Linked DNA regions of Homo sapiens: region 2 is linked to region 1. Evidence: promoter capture Hi-C in 16 types of primary human blood cells and fetal thymus (Javierre and others, 2016). All regions are on one chromosome and are shown on one strand. The core of a region is centred on a gene start or on the middle of the fragment in contact, and the rest is flanking DNA. Distances in the headings are between cores, read along the strand shown.

What was found. Contacts are between HindIII fragments. The CHiCAGO score rates a contact against its expected background, and 5 or more counts as called.
Region 2: a fragment that was not itself captured here is called in contact with the fragment with the promoter of PGBD2 in region 1 in 5 of 17 cell types (naive CD8 T cells, neutrophils, non-activated CD4 T cells and 2 more); the score reaches 8.8 in naive CD8 T cells.

The regions. Positions count from the first base shown.
Region 1 is chr1:248,902,264-248,908,615 of GRCh38, reverse strand. PGBD2 (piggyBac transposable element derived 2) reads right to left here and starts at 2,381. Exons shown (of 3, transcript NM_170725.3): 1 at 2,274-2,381. RefSeq lists silencers at 1,936-2,025, 2,436-2,495 and enhancers at 2,116-2,305, 1,830-2,751. The HindIII fragment of the contact is 4,441 bases long and covers 1-4,416 here.
Region 2 is chr1:248,810,314-248,816,665 of GRCh38, reverse strand. It overlaps SH3BP5L (SH3 binding domain protein 5 like), which reads left to right. Exons shown (of 7, transcript NM_030645.3): 4 at 4-132; 5 at 2,056-2,217; 6 at 3,504-3,677; 7 at 4,296-6,220. The coding sequence ends at 4,766. Among named protein-coding and RNA genes, the nearest start is that of SH3BP5L, 12 kb to the left of the region's middle. RefSeq lists a silencer at 4,257-4,306. The HindIII fragment of the contact is 6,170 bases long and covers 1-5,795 here.

The DNA of each region.
Region 1 (6,352 bases), core at 1,132-3,631:
GAGTATGCAGGCCCCAACATAGATGCAGGGAGATGGACAAAAAGGCTACGGCAAAAGGGTGGGGCCTATGGAGAGAAATGGACACACTTAAGGAGGACTTAAAATGTAAAACCATCAAGCCTGGATAATTGGTTGAGGGGGTAGGGCAGGGGAGAAAGCTGATCGGGGAAGCCTCCTAGATTTCAGGCACCCTATGGCTGGTGCACAGAGGTGCCATTCACTAAGCCTAGCAGCACTGGGAGGAAGAGCAGAGGGTGGTCACGAGCTGCCCAGAGGTCCAACTGGGCATTCTCAACTGAACTGGCCCAGGCACTCAACAAAGAAAAAGCAACTTGGTGTGAGACCTGGAGCTCCCCAGGCCACTCTAAAGGGTCCTAGGGGATTGGGAGGTGGGAGAGCTGCTGTTTAAAATGTAAATTTCTCCAAGGAAAGACAGGACAACTAAATGCTGTCTTGGAACCTAAATTACAAAATGGAAATAGGTGAGAGTAAAGAAATTCGAATAAGGCCTGTAGGTGTTAATATCCTGGTTTTGTTGACTGTTTTGTAAAATAAGATGTTAACCCCTAGGAAATCCAGACGAACCGTACATGGGAATTTTTGCTTGTTTCACAACACTCTGAAACTCTGAAATTAATTCAAGATAAAAATTATTCAAAAGACATTTTATAGATGTAAATGCCCCAAAGCTGAGCCAGGTGCCTAACTGTAGGGAAAAGAAAGAGAAGTCAGACTGCTACTGTGTCTATGTAGAAAGGGAAGACATAAGAAATTCCATTTTGACCTGTACCTTGAACAATTGCTTTGCCCTGAGATGCTCTTAATCTGTAACTTTGCCCCAACCTCTTTGCTCCAACCTTGACCTCACAAAAACATGTGTTGTATGGAATCAAGGTTTAAGGGGTCTAGGGCTGTGCAGGACATGTCTTGTTAACAAAATGTTTACAAGCAGTATGCTTGGTAAAAGTCATCACCATTCTCTAGTCTCAATAAACAAGGGGCGCAATGCACCATGAAAAGCCACAGGGACCTCTGCCCTGGAAAGCCGGGTATTGTCCAAGGTTTCTCCCCATGTGATAGTCTGAAATACAGCCTCGTGGGAAGAGAAAGACCTTACCGTCCCCCAGCCCGACACCCGTCTGTGCTGAGGTGGATTAGTAAAAGAGGAAAGCCTCTTGCAGTTGAGATAGATGAAGGCCACTGTGTCCTGCCTGCCCCTGGGAACTGAATGTCTCCGTACAAAACCTGATTGTACATTTGTTCAATTCTGAGATAGGAGAAAAACTGCCCTATGGCAGGAGGCAAGACATGTTGGCAGCAATGCTGCCCTGTTATTCTTTATTCCACTGAAATGTTTGGGCAGAGAGAAACATAAATGTGGCCTACGTGCACATCCAGGCATAGTACCTCCACTTGAACTTATGACATAAATTCTTTTGCTCACATGTTTCTTTGCTGACCTCCTTATCACCCTGCTCTCCTACCGCATTCCTCTTGCTGAGATAATGAAAACAATAATCAATAAAAACTGAGGGAACTCAGAGACCGGTGCTGGTGCAAGTCCTTGGTATGCTGAGTGCCGGTCCCCTGGGCCCACTGTGGTTTCTCTATACTTTGTCTCTGTGTCTTATTTCTTTTCTCAGTCTCTCCTCCCACCTGACAAGATATCCCACAGGTGTGGAAGGGCAGGCCACCCCTTCACCCAACAGCTCAGAATGGCTTTTGTGGGATACGGAAGAACCCTCCCTTCTCTTCACCTCACTAGCAAAAGAGAAAGAAGGGCAAACAAAGACCCTCAGAAACCTCAGCAGCTTCCCAGGCAGACGCAGTTAAAAACGACCCGCCCCCAGCGCGCCCCGGCACAGAGCCACCCCGCCCCAGGATGTGACGTGGCATTCGCAGTCCCGCCGCCAGCCTCAGGCCGCCCGCCTCCTTCGTCCCGCCCACCCCGCCCGAGCCTGCCCTGGTCCCTCCCACCCCGCCCTGAATCCATCCCTCTTTAGCCCGACCCCGCCCTGGTCCCCACCCACCCCGCTCCGCCTCCCGCTCAGCCGGCCCGGCCTCCGGCCTCGCACCCCAACCCGCAGAAGGAGCGCCCCCTTGCGGCCCTCGGAATCCCATTGTTCCTGTCCTGGTCCCGCCAGCCCACCGTCGGCGCGCAGTGGTGAGGACGAACTCCTCGGATGCCGCCGTTGAGAAAACGCAACATCAACGCCAACCACTCCTGTACTCAAGCGAAGCCCTGCCTGCAGCGCGAGCACACTGAGGCCTACCTGCCCTACCCCAGACGGAGACTCGCGAGCCCGAACCGGACCATGAGCCGCGCCGAATCGGAGCGCTGCGCCTGCGTTGGCGTCGGGCGTCGCGGCCGCGCAACGTCCGGCACCAGAGGGCTCGCTGCACCTCGGCCGGCCTTCCATGCCACGCCCCCGGGCCAGGCCACGCCCCGGCCCGAGCGACCATCGAGACTCCAGGACCTCCGCGGCGCCTAGAGGGATCCCGAAAACGCCTGCGAGGCCAGAACGGCCGAAATAACCCACCCCAGCGGGCCAGCTCTTCCCGCCACTCTCCCTTACCCTCCCACCCCTGTCCTACTTTGGAAACCTTCCTCGCTCCTTCCTAATCAGGAGAGCATGGGGACTTTCTAGGGTAGTGGTTCTCAAATGTGCCCCCAATCTAACAGCAGCTTCACCTGGGAAATCGATGGAAATGCAAATCTTGGGACCCCACTACAGGCCTTCTGAGTAAGAAACTCTGAGGGTGTGCCCAATAATCGGCCTTACCAACCCTGAAGGTAATTGTGGTACAAACTAGGGCTTGAGAACCACTGCTGTATGGCAGGGTTTCTCAACCTCCACTCTTGACATTTTGGGCCTGGATAATTCTTTGTTGAGAGGGAAGGAGGCTGTCCTGTGCATTATAGGAGGCAGGGTCACGGATAAAATACAGTTAAATTTGAGTTTCAGGTAACAGTGTTGTTCATCTAAGATTCACATTTAACTGGAAGTCCCTGTATTTCATCTGGCTACCTTGCCTACCTATATTTTTACTTGGTAAAAATAGAACCTTAATTGTAGGATATTGAGCATCCCTAGCAACTAAATGCCAGTAGCACACCACACTCTCTCCACTCTAGTTATGACAAATAAAAGTATCTCCCCCTACTTCTTGAGAATCACGGCTCTATAAGGACTTTGTCCAGCTGAAACCCAGTAGCCCATTAGGTATATAGGACAGTGTACTCCGCAGAAAACTGCCTTGCCCTGAAAGGCTTTGAACACAGAAATCCCTGGGACCAAACCGTGTTAACATTCAAAAAGAGGGCCACTTAGTGAAGAGTTTGTATTTGCTTCTCCACACTGACACTTCACAAAGGTTTTTTGGTCACTGTAAAGTGTGTTCCAAAACCCCTGGATCAGAAGAAAAAAATCATGCTCATTTGTGAGATTCTGAAGTGAAGGGCACGTATTAGTTTGTCATTCATTCCACATATGAGCAAATTGAGAAAACAGGCAATAAGCCATGGGAAAATGGGAGTGCTACTCTAGGTAAGGTAGGGTGGTGTTTCTAACTTGCTTTGTTCCCCAGATCCTGTGTCTCATTCATTCATTCAAGTGTTAAATGAGTGTCTTCTCTGTGACAATCACTCCTCTGAGCAGTGATGTTAGAACAGTGAAAAAGAAAAGGCACAAGAGAAAAACCCTCTTGTCATTTCAGTGGGAGAACCAGACAGTAAACAAAATATATGGCATGTCAAAGTGGAAAGTGCTAGGAAGAAAATAAAGGAAGCAAAGGGGACCAATAAGACTGTTGTGAATTCAGTTTTAAATAATTTGGTCAGGGAAGGTTGGTAAGTGAGAAGGTTGTATTTGAGGGAAAAGCCAAAGAATATGAAGAGCAAATTCCCCATGCAGAATTCAAGGGGGAAAATATTTGAAGCAGAGAGAATGGCATGTGCAAATGCTCTGAGGCGAAGCAAGCCTAGCACATTTGAGAATGGCTGGAGACAAAAGAAAGTCAAAGAAATGAGGTCAAAGAGGGGGTGAGTTCAACAAGGAGTAATAAGGTGCTTGCTGGCTGTTTCTTCCATACCTTTATGATCCAGAGAGAATTCTCACTGCAATTTGGATACTTGCATATGTAATTTAAAGTTAATAAAAAGATCGGGACCAAGTGTAAGTGTTTATGGAGCTGCAAAGAGTCCATCTAGACATTTTCAGTGCATTGCTTTGAATAAAGCTACGTTTAAAAACAAAGTCAAATCTTTGAAAACAATGTCAAATTTGGGGTAGAATGGCAGAAGAACTGCATGATAGGAATTGGGAAAAAAAAAAAAATTTAGCCCGTTAAGCTAGAATCCTTTGAGGAAAATACATATTTTGAAGTTCTTTAATTGAGAAATAGGCTAAATAAGCTTTAAGGAAAAAATTGGGGAAAATATTTAAATTATGTGTATTATGAGTAAATTTCATAAAAGCCTTGCAGCCTAGTTTGTTTATAGATACTATCTTGCTTTAGGGAGTTAACAAATAAAAAAAAAACATAAAAAGAAGAAAATGGACTTAGGGAATTAAACTTATATATTTATTAATTTATTTCATTTAGTTTATTTCACCTGTACATGTCTTTGTGTGTATGTATGGGGTGAGACTTTACATATAAAAATTCTCATGTCGCATTGACTAAATAACACCTTATGGTTGATGATGTTAGTACATAGCAGCAATTAAAGCTCAGCTACAAGTTGCTGACTACATTAAAGTTTTTGACAGCCATAGCAGTATCACAGCCTACCCAACAATTAAGAATGTCACATACATGAAACCACAGTTGTATGGAATTATGAGAAAATACTCATTAGTCCATCAGGATATTTTAGTTAAGGAAATTACTAGAGATATCAGGTGAGCTGGACCTGAAGAAAGAACCAGATGCCAAATAATTTCAGGCTAGAACTCCCAAGCGCCCATGATTAATGGGTCCAGGATAAGAAGAGATTGCTGGTTTCTTGAAGCTTGCTTGTTAATAAATGATATGGAGGTGGCATGCATTCCGATGACAATTGAATTGATTTGACGCACTATGTATGATTAAGGATTTGATGTCCTGCATAAAGTTAAGAATCAGGCTGGGCAGTGGTGGCTCACACCTGTAATCCCAGCACTTTGGAAGCCTGAGGTGGGAGAATCGCCTGAGGCCAAGAGTTCAAGACCAGCCTGGGCAACATAGTAAGACTATGCTACATTAAAGTTAGCCAGGTGTGATGGTACACACCTGTAGCCCCAGATACTCAGGAAGCTAAGACAGGAGGACTGCTTGAGCCCAGGAGTTTGAGACCTCAATGAGCTATGATCATGCCACTGCACTCCAACCTAGGTGACAGAATGAGACCCTGTCTCTAAAAGAAAACAAAAAATAAAAATAAATTTAAAGTTAAGAATTAGTTGATAGGGAGTCAGGAGCAATGGTTCATGTCTGAAATCCCAGAAATTTGGAAGGCCAAAGCAGGAGGATCATTTGAGCACAGAAGTTTGAGACCAGCCTGGGCAATATAGGAAGATCCCATCTCTACAAAAAAACTTGTTTTTTCTTCAGCTTTTATTTTAAGTTCAGGGGTACGTGTGCAGGGTGTGCAGGTTTGTTATATAGGTAAATGTGCCATGCTGATTTTGCTGCACAGATCAACCCATCACCTAGGTATTAAGCTTAACAAGCATTAGCTACTTTTCCTGATGCTCTCCCTCCCCATAGGTCCCTGACAGGCCCCACTGTGTTGTTCCCCGCCACCCCACCCCCACTGCCCCATCTGTGTGTTCTCATAGTTCATCTCCCACTTATAAGTGAGAACATGTGGTGTTGGGTTTTCTGTTCCTACATTAGTTTGCTGAGGATAATGGTTCCCAGCTCCATCCATCTCCCTGCAAAAAGATATGATCTCAATCCTTTTTATTGCTACATAGTATTCCATGTTGTATATGTACCACATTTTCTTTATCCAGTCTATCACTGATGGGCATTTGGGTTGATTACATGTCTTAGCTGTTGTGAGTAGTGCTGCAATGAACATATGCATGCATGGTATCTTTATCATAGAATGATTTATATTCCTGTGGGTATATGCCCAGTAATAGGATTGCTGAGTCAAATGGTATTTCTGATTTTAGATCTTTGAGGAATCACCACACTGTCTTTCACAATGGTTGAACTGATTTACATTTGAACCAACAGTGTAAAAGCATTCTGATTTCTCTGCAACCTTGCCAGTAACTATTGTTTCTTGACTTTTTAATAACTGACATTCTGACTGGCATGAGATGGTATCTCATTATAGGTTTTTTTTTTTTTTTGAGAT
Region 2 (6,352 bases), core at 1,461-3,960, 92 kb after region 1:
CAGGAGGCCAGGACCACCTATCGGAGGATCCTACAGGAGTCGGCGAGGAAACTGAATACACAGGGTTCCCACTTGGGGAGCTGCATCGAGAAAGCCCGGCCCTACTATGAGGCTCGGCGGCTGGCTAAGGAGGTATGGCTGGCTGACCACGTTTGAGGAAGGCTACGTGCTGAGCCTGGCCCTGGATTCTTCTGTCTCTATATGGAGTGAGAGACAAAACACCAGACCCTGAGGGCAGAGCCCTGGGCTAGACCTGGCTGGTCGGAACCAGCTCTGTGGGCTCAGGAGGTTCCTTTACCACGTGGGCTCTGGGCTTATGGTCTATAAAATGGTGAGGGTGGCTGTGGGAGAATATTTAGTTCAGCCCTGCTAATGTTTAAGTGCCTTCTGTGTATCAGGAATCAGGCTTTAGGGTATATCAGATATGTCAGTTCTAACATCCTGTTGTTTTCATCTGCGCCCATTTCCTCTTCCCTTTGGTTCATGTCTCTCTTCTGAATCTTTTCTTTGCTTACTCCTCACTCTTTTCCCCATCCCACACCCCTTTTTTCTGTAACAAATTACTTTTAACAAATAATATGTGTTCACCATTGGAAAAACATAATAAAACAAGAAGGAAACAAAAATCACCCAAAATCCTACCATGCACGTTTCATGCATTTTGTTTCCTGGGATTTGTTGTCATCCTGTATGGTGAGGTGACAGATACAGACAACTGCCTTGGAAGAAGAGTTTGTTCCCGAGAGGAGGGGACATCCATGCCATGCAGGGCCACACGGGGAAGCAGCCAGGGTCCTTCAGGAGGCAGAAGTGAAGGAGAAAGCAAAGCGCAGCGCCTTAGTGTGGTTTTCGTGGAAAGGAGTAGGTGAGGCAGGGTAGGCAAGTTTGGATAAGTTTAGGAGTGGATAGTTGGAATAACTTTGCTAGGCCCTGGGCTATAGGGGCGGCCTCTAATTGTCTAGTACCTGGCCCTGGGATGACTTAGGGCAGAGGAAATATCGGCTTGGTCGGGGAGAAGTAGGTAAAGGAGTTAGCTGGGGATCCAGGCTTTGGATTAGGTGGTTGGTTTGCATATGAAAGGCACACTTACAGGGGAGTTTACTGTTTCTAGGAATTAGCCCTGGAAGGGGCAGTTTGTCCTTGGCCAGCAAGGTCCCCCAAGACATGAAAGCATCATAAAGTATAGAAAATAAAAATATGATTAATACAGCACAGATAACCATGTGTGCTGTATTAATCATATTTCGTGTCCTTGTATATCCAGCCAAAATGGGATTACACAGTATGTGCTATTTTGTTCTTTTATTAGCATTATGACATGGTTCCATGTCAATAACTATACATCCAAGCCGTCATTTTAAAGGACTGATTAATATTTTATTTTTTTAAGAAATGGGGTCTTGCTCTGTTGCCCAGACTGGAGTGCAATGGTGTGATCATAGCTCACTGTAACCTCAAACTCCTAGGCTCAAGTAATCCTCCTCCCTCAGCCTCACAAGTAGATGGGCTCACAGGCAGAAGCCACTGCGCCCAGCTTATTTTCTTATATTAGATGTACTATTATTTATTTAACCGATGTCCTATAACTGAAAAGTTAGGTTTGTTTTGTTTTTTGCTTGGTTGGTATGGCTATGATGACTGTCCCTGAGCACTTGTCTGATTACTTCCTTCAGCTTGCCTGCTGAACATGGAATTGATGGTCTCAAGGTCATCTTTTCTGTAAGACTCTGTCTATGTTGCTAACCACCTTACACTAAAATGGTTTGTGTTTTCCTTTGTTTTCCCTAGGGGAAAAGGCTAGCAGCCTTTGGGAGTGCTGGATTTCACACATCTACCCTCCACTGGCAAAATTTTTATTTCTTCTAGTCCATATCCTTATGAAATATTCTTTATAGAATGTTGCTTCCTTGGCATTTATCCTCAGCACAGTTTGGGAAATGAAGCCGACATTGCTAGTAGGCCTTCCTCCTTCTCTTATCCTCACGTCTATTATGGGTCTCCATGGGCAGCTGGGGTCCCTCAGGGTTCCCCATCCTGATATCCCTCTCCCCCCAGGCTCAGCAGGAGACACAGAAGGCAGCGCTGCGGTACGAGCGGGCCGTAAGCATGCACAACGCTGCTCGAGAAATGGTGTTTGTGGCTGAGCAGGGCGTCATGGCTGACAAGAACCGACTGGACCCCACGTGGCAGGAGATGCTGAACCATGCTACCTGCAAGGTGAGCCGGGCGGTGCCAGCAGGTCCCCTTCGCTGGTTCTCGTCCATCCTTTGCTATGTCTTTATCACCTCACCTCCTCATTCTTCCCTCTATTCTAGCCTTCTTTCAACTTTGATTCTGTTTCAGGCAAAACCTGTTCCTAGTTTTCTGTTCTGTTTGGCCTCCATTGCTTCCCATATTCCATTTCCCTCTGACTTAGAATGTCATCCCGGGCTCTTCTTGAACGTTTGCCTCCAGGTGTGGGACTAACCCAAACAATTCATCCCTGGTGGATACTGAGGATTCAACATTCACATTTTATTATGTTTAGCTGTGTGACTCCTCGCTTCTGTTTTCAGAGTCTGCTCCCTTTCCTGCTTTTGAGCTCTGACAGTACACCTCGAGTTTTGAAGTATAATTTATGTATCATTTCCAAGCTCCTGAAAGGGGACTGGGGAGCGGAAGGATCTCTGCCGTTGGCCCTGTCTGCCACCTTCAGCTTGCACAGGGCAGGTGTCAGCAACTCGAGGGGGTGTTTGTGGCTTGTGATTCTTCATCTGCCCCTCACACAGAACAGGCACCTCACTTCTACTCTAGAGCTCATGCAAATGAGAGCACACAGCACGGGGGGAGGGGTTAGGGGATGGTGTATAGTGTAGAGCTACACCTGAACAGGGAGCAGGTGAGGGCTCCAGCCGCTTTGTCTACCAGGACAAGTGGGCCAACTGTACAACACCCTGAGCAGAAGCACGCCAGAGCCCCATCCAACCTCGGCCCACTTGTCCTGGACGGTGCCCACATAGGGTGTGGAAACCTGGAGAACCCAGCGCACAGCTGTGGCTCCCCACACAGGCTCTTCTCACTCCCAGATCCCTAACCATTGGCGCTGAGGGCTCCCTGAAGAGAATGGCTGCTGCAGATGTGTGATGTGCTGACAGACATTCCCCTGATGCTCTCAAGTGGTTGAGTGGGCACCAGCATCCCTTTCCTGGCAGCAGCAAAGCTGAGTAGCCAGTGGTGCAGGTGACACTAGGCAAGAACATGGGGAAGACGTGGCTCAGAGGCATGTGCCTGTGATGTGGTCCTCGACGGTCAGGCAGCAGATCCAAGAGAGACAGAAATAAGCTGTCTTGAGGCTCATAGACCCCGTGTTCCCCTGCGTGTCTCGGGCTCTGTACACAGTTGGGGGTTTGCAGAGGATGTTCCTGTTTGGGTTCCCCCCAGGGCGTTGTTCAGATTGGCAGCCTGGGGCAGATGCCAGAGACTGAAGCATGGGTCCTGGCTCAGTGATGTGTCCTCTGGGCCAGGTGAATGAGGCGGAGGAAGAGCGGCTTCGAGGTGAGCGGGAGCACCAGCGAGTGACTCGGCTGTGCCAACAGGCTGAGGCTCGGGTCCAAGCCCTGCAGAAGACCCTCCGGAGGGCCATCGGCAAGAGCCGCCCCTACTTTGAGCTCAAGGCCCAGTTCAGCCAGATCCTGGAGGTAGCTGAGTGGGTGAGGGGGAGGAGGAATGGGTAGGTGGGGGTGCAGGCTGGAGGGGATGCTGGTCGGCCTCTCTGGGCCATCTTGGTGAGGTGGCCAGGGTGAGGCCTCCGGCTAGCGGTGGGGAAGGGTGGTGGCACACATGTTCCAAATGACCTTGCAGGAGTGAGAGGCAGGGATGGGGGCTGGTGATGGGGGCTGGTGACGGCGAGAACGTAGTTGGAAGAAGGGAGGTAAACAAGAGGAAAAGAACTGGTGGAAATCTGGGATGGGGAAGAAGAACCAGCCATTGGGTGAAAGGGAACAGTGGGGAGAGGATGAGGAAGCAGGAGCTGGTGGAGAGGAAGGCCTGAGAGGAAGGCTCTGGAAGGTGGGGCTCAGGTCAGGAGCAGGATTGCTGGGGAGGAACAACGCAGAGCAAGTGGAGCAGGGAAGGGTGTTGTGGGTCTGTGGTGGGTGCTGAGAGTGGAGCAGGGAAGGCTGTTGTGGGTCTGTGGTGGATGCTGAGCCAGCTGTCCAGGTATTCTGGGAGAGCAGGCCCTCAGACCTCAGTGCAGAGTGCTGAGGAAGGTGGAGACGTGCCCCATGGGTCGCCTTGCTCTGCTCTGCCCTCTGCAGGAGCACAAGGCCAAGGTGACAGAACTGGAGCAGCAGGTAGCTCAGGCCAAGACGCGCTACTCCGTGGCCCTTCGTAACCTGGAGCAGATCAGCGAGCAGATTCACGCACGGCGCCGCGGGGGTCTGCCTCCCCACCCCCTGGGCCCTCGGCGCTCCTCCCCCGTGGGGGCCGAGGCAGGACCCGAGGACATGGAGGACGGAGACAGCGGGATTGAGGGGGCCGAGGGTGCGGGGCTGGAGGAGGGCAGCAGCCTGGGGCCCGGCCCCGCCCCCGACACCGATACCCTGAGTCTGCTGAGCCTGCGCACGGTGGCTTCAGACCTGCAGAAGTGCGACTCCGTGGAGCACTTGCGAGGCCTCTCGGACCACGTCAGTCTGGACGGCCAAGAGCTGGGAACGCGGAGTGGAGGGCGCCGGGGCAGCGACGGCGGAGCCCGTGGGGGTCGGCACCAGCGCAGCGTCAGCCTGTAGCCGAGGGGCCAGGGTTCCTGGCTTGAATCTGCCACCACGGGCCGGTTGGGGCCCACAGTCTTCTCACGCCCTCTCCTCTGGGGCCTCGTCTTCCCGAAGGTCCCCTTCTCCAGTGCTTCCCTGGGAGAGGCCAGCTGTGTTCGAGTCCTCTGTGCCTGCCCTGGCGTTCTCACAGCCTCCCCCTTCCCCTCAGCAGGCGGCTCTCTTTGCCTTACCCATTCAGAAGGCTCGCCCTCGGCGCTCTGTCTGCCTCTGCCTGCCAGCTCATCACGATCTGCAGGGCATTGACCCTTTGCTTTCCCTTTCTGCTCCCTCTCTTTCCATCTGTTTGGCTTTTTCCCTCAGGGAACTTGGTCTAGAAGGCACTGGGAAGCTCATCAGAGAAAATGGGTGCTGGGCCTGAGTACTCCCGTCGGAGGGGATGGACAGTCACCCCTCCCGTTGGTTTCCAGCCCCGCCCCCCTTCCCAAGGCAACTCTGGAGGGTACCCTAGGTATGCTGCTGAGCCCTGCCCCCCGTCCTGCTCCAGCCTGCCCGTGTGTAACCTGTAAGATGTACTGTGTGCCTCCGGAAGACACCACCTTTCCCTTCAGCATTCCCTTTCATGACCTGAGGCACTCTGCGATGTGTGCCCCAAAGCAGAACTTACAGGGCCTGCAGGAAGCTGGTGTCAGGGAGAGAAACCCAACCCCACTGTCAACATAGGGAGCATCACCAACTCCAGACTGGCTCCTGTGGGTATGGTGTTTCCGCTGGGCTGGGTCCTCAACATTGCCAAGGTGCTAGTGGGTCCCTAAGAGGGCCCATGTTGGGGGTGAAGTCATGAGGTCCTGAAGGCTTAGGCCCCTGTCATTCCCACCCTCACTCTTGCTGCACAGTTGTGTTTACTTTTTCTGGGTAGAGGATGCTGAACTGACTCAGCACCCTCCTGCAGGACGGGGTTAGGGAATTTGGTGCTCAATTGCTCTCCCTTGCTCTTCCCCAAACTGAAAATACCTACTGCAGGATCCCTCGGGGCACACTGAAGCTTGGCTGCCAACCCTCTTACTTCCTTTGTTACAGGGAGGGGTTGGCTTGGGGTGAAAAGTTCTGCCCTCCGCAGGGAGCAGCTCCAGCTGCCTGGCAGTGCTCCCAGTTTGTAGGGAAGCCACACCAGATCTGGGTGCCTTGGGAGAACCAGTCCTTCCTTTTGACCCACCCCAGGAAGATGGAGTGCTCTTTTCTAGGCCCATGTTCTGCCAGCAACCGGGATGCGTGGGCAACTGGACTCTGCACGGGGGTCTACAGGTTGAGGGAGGTTGGTCACAATGAGAACCTCGGGGTTTGAGGTGGCCATGGGCAGACAGCCGAAAGGGAGGGAGGGTGTGGGTGTGCGTGTGTGCATGTGCTGGTGTGTAAGGGGGAAAGGGTCTTTCCTGGTTTTATTTAAATAAAGTAGTTTATGTAACAGTTAACATCTACTGTCCTTGCTGGAGGAAGAGAAAAGGGGCAAAGATGAGGCAAGGGTTGGGCAAGGGAAGAGCAGGGTTAGGCGGCAGGCTTTTTAGATGGTGTGGTCAGGGAAGGGAGGTGAAGGACCAGATTGA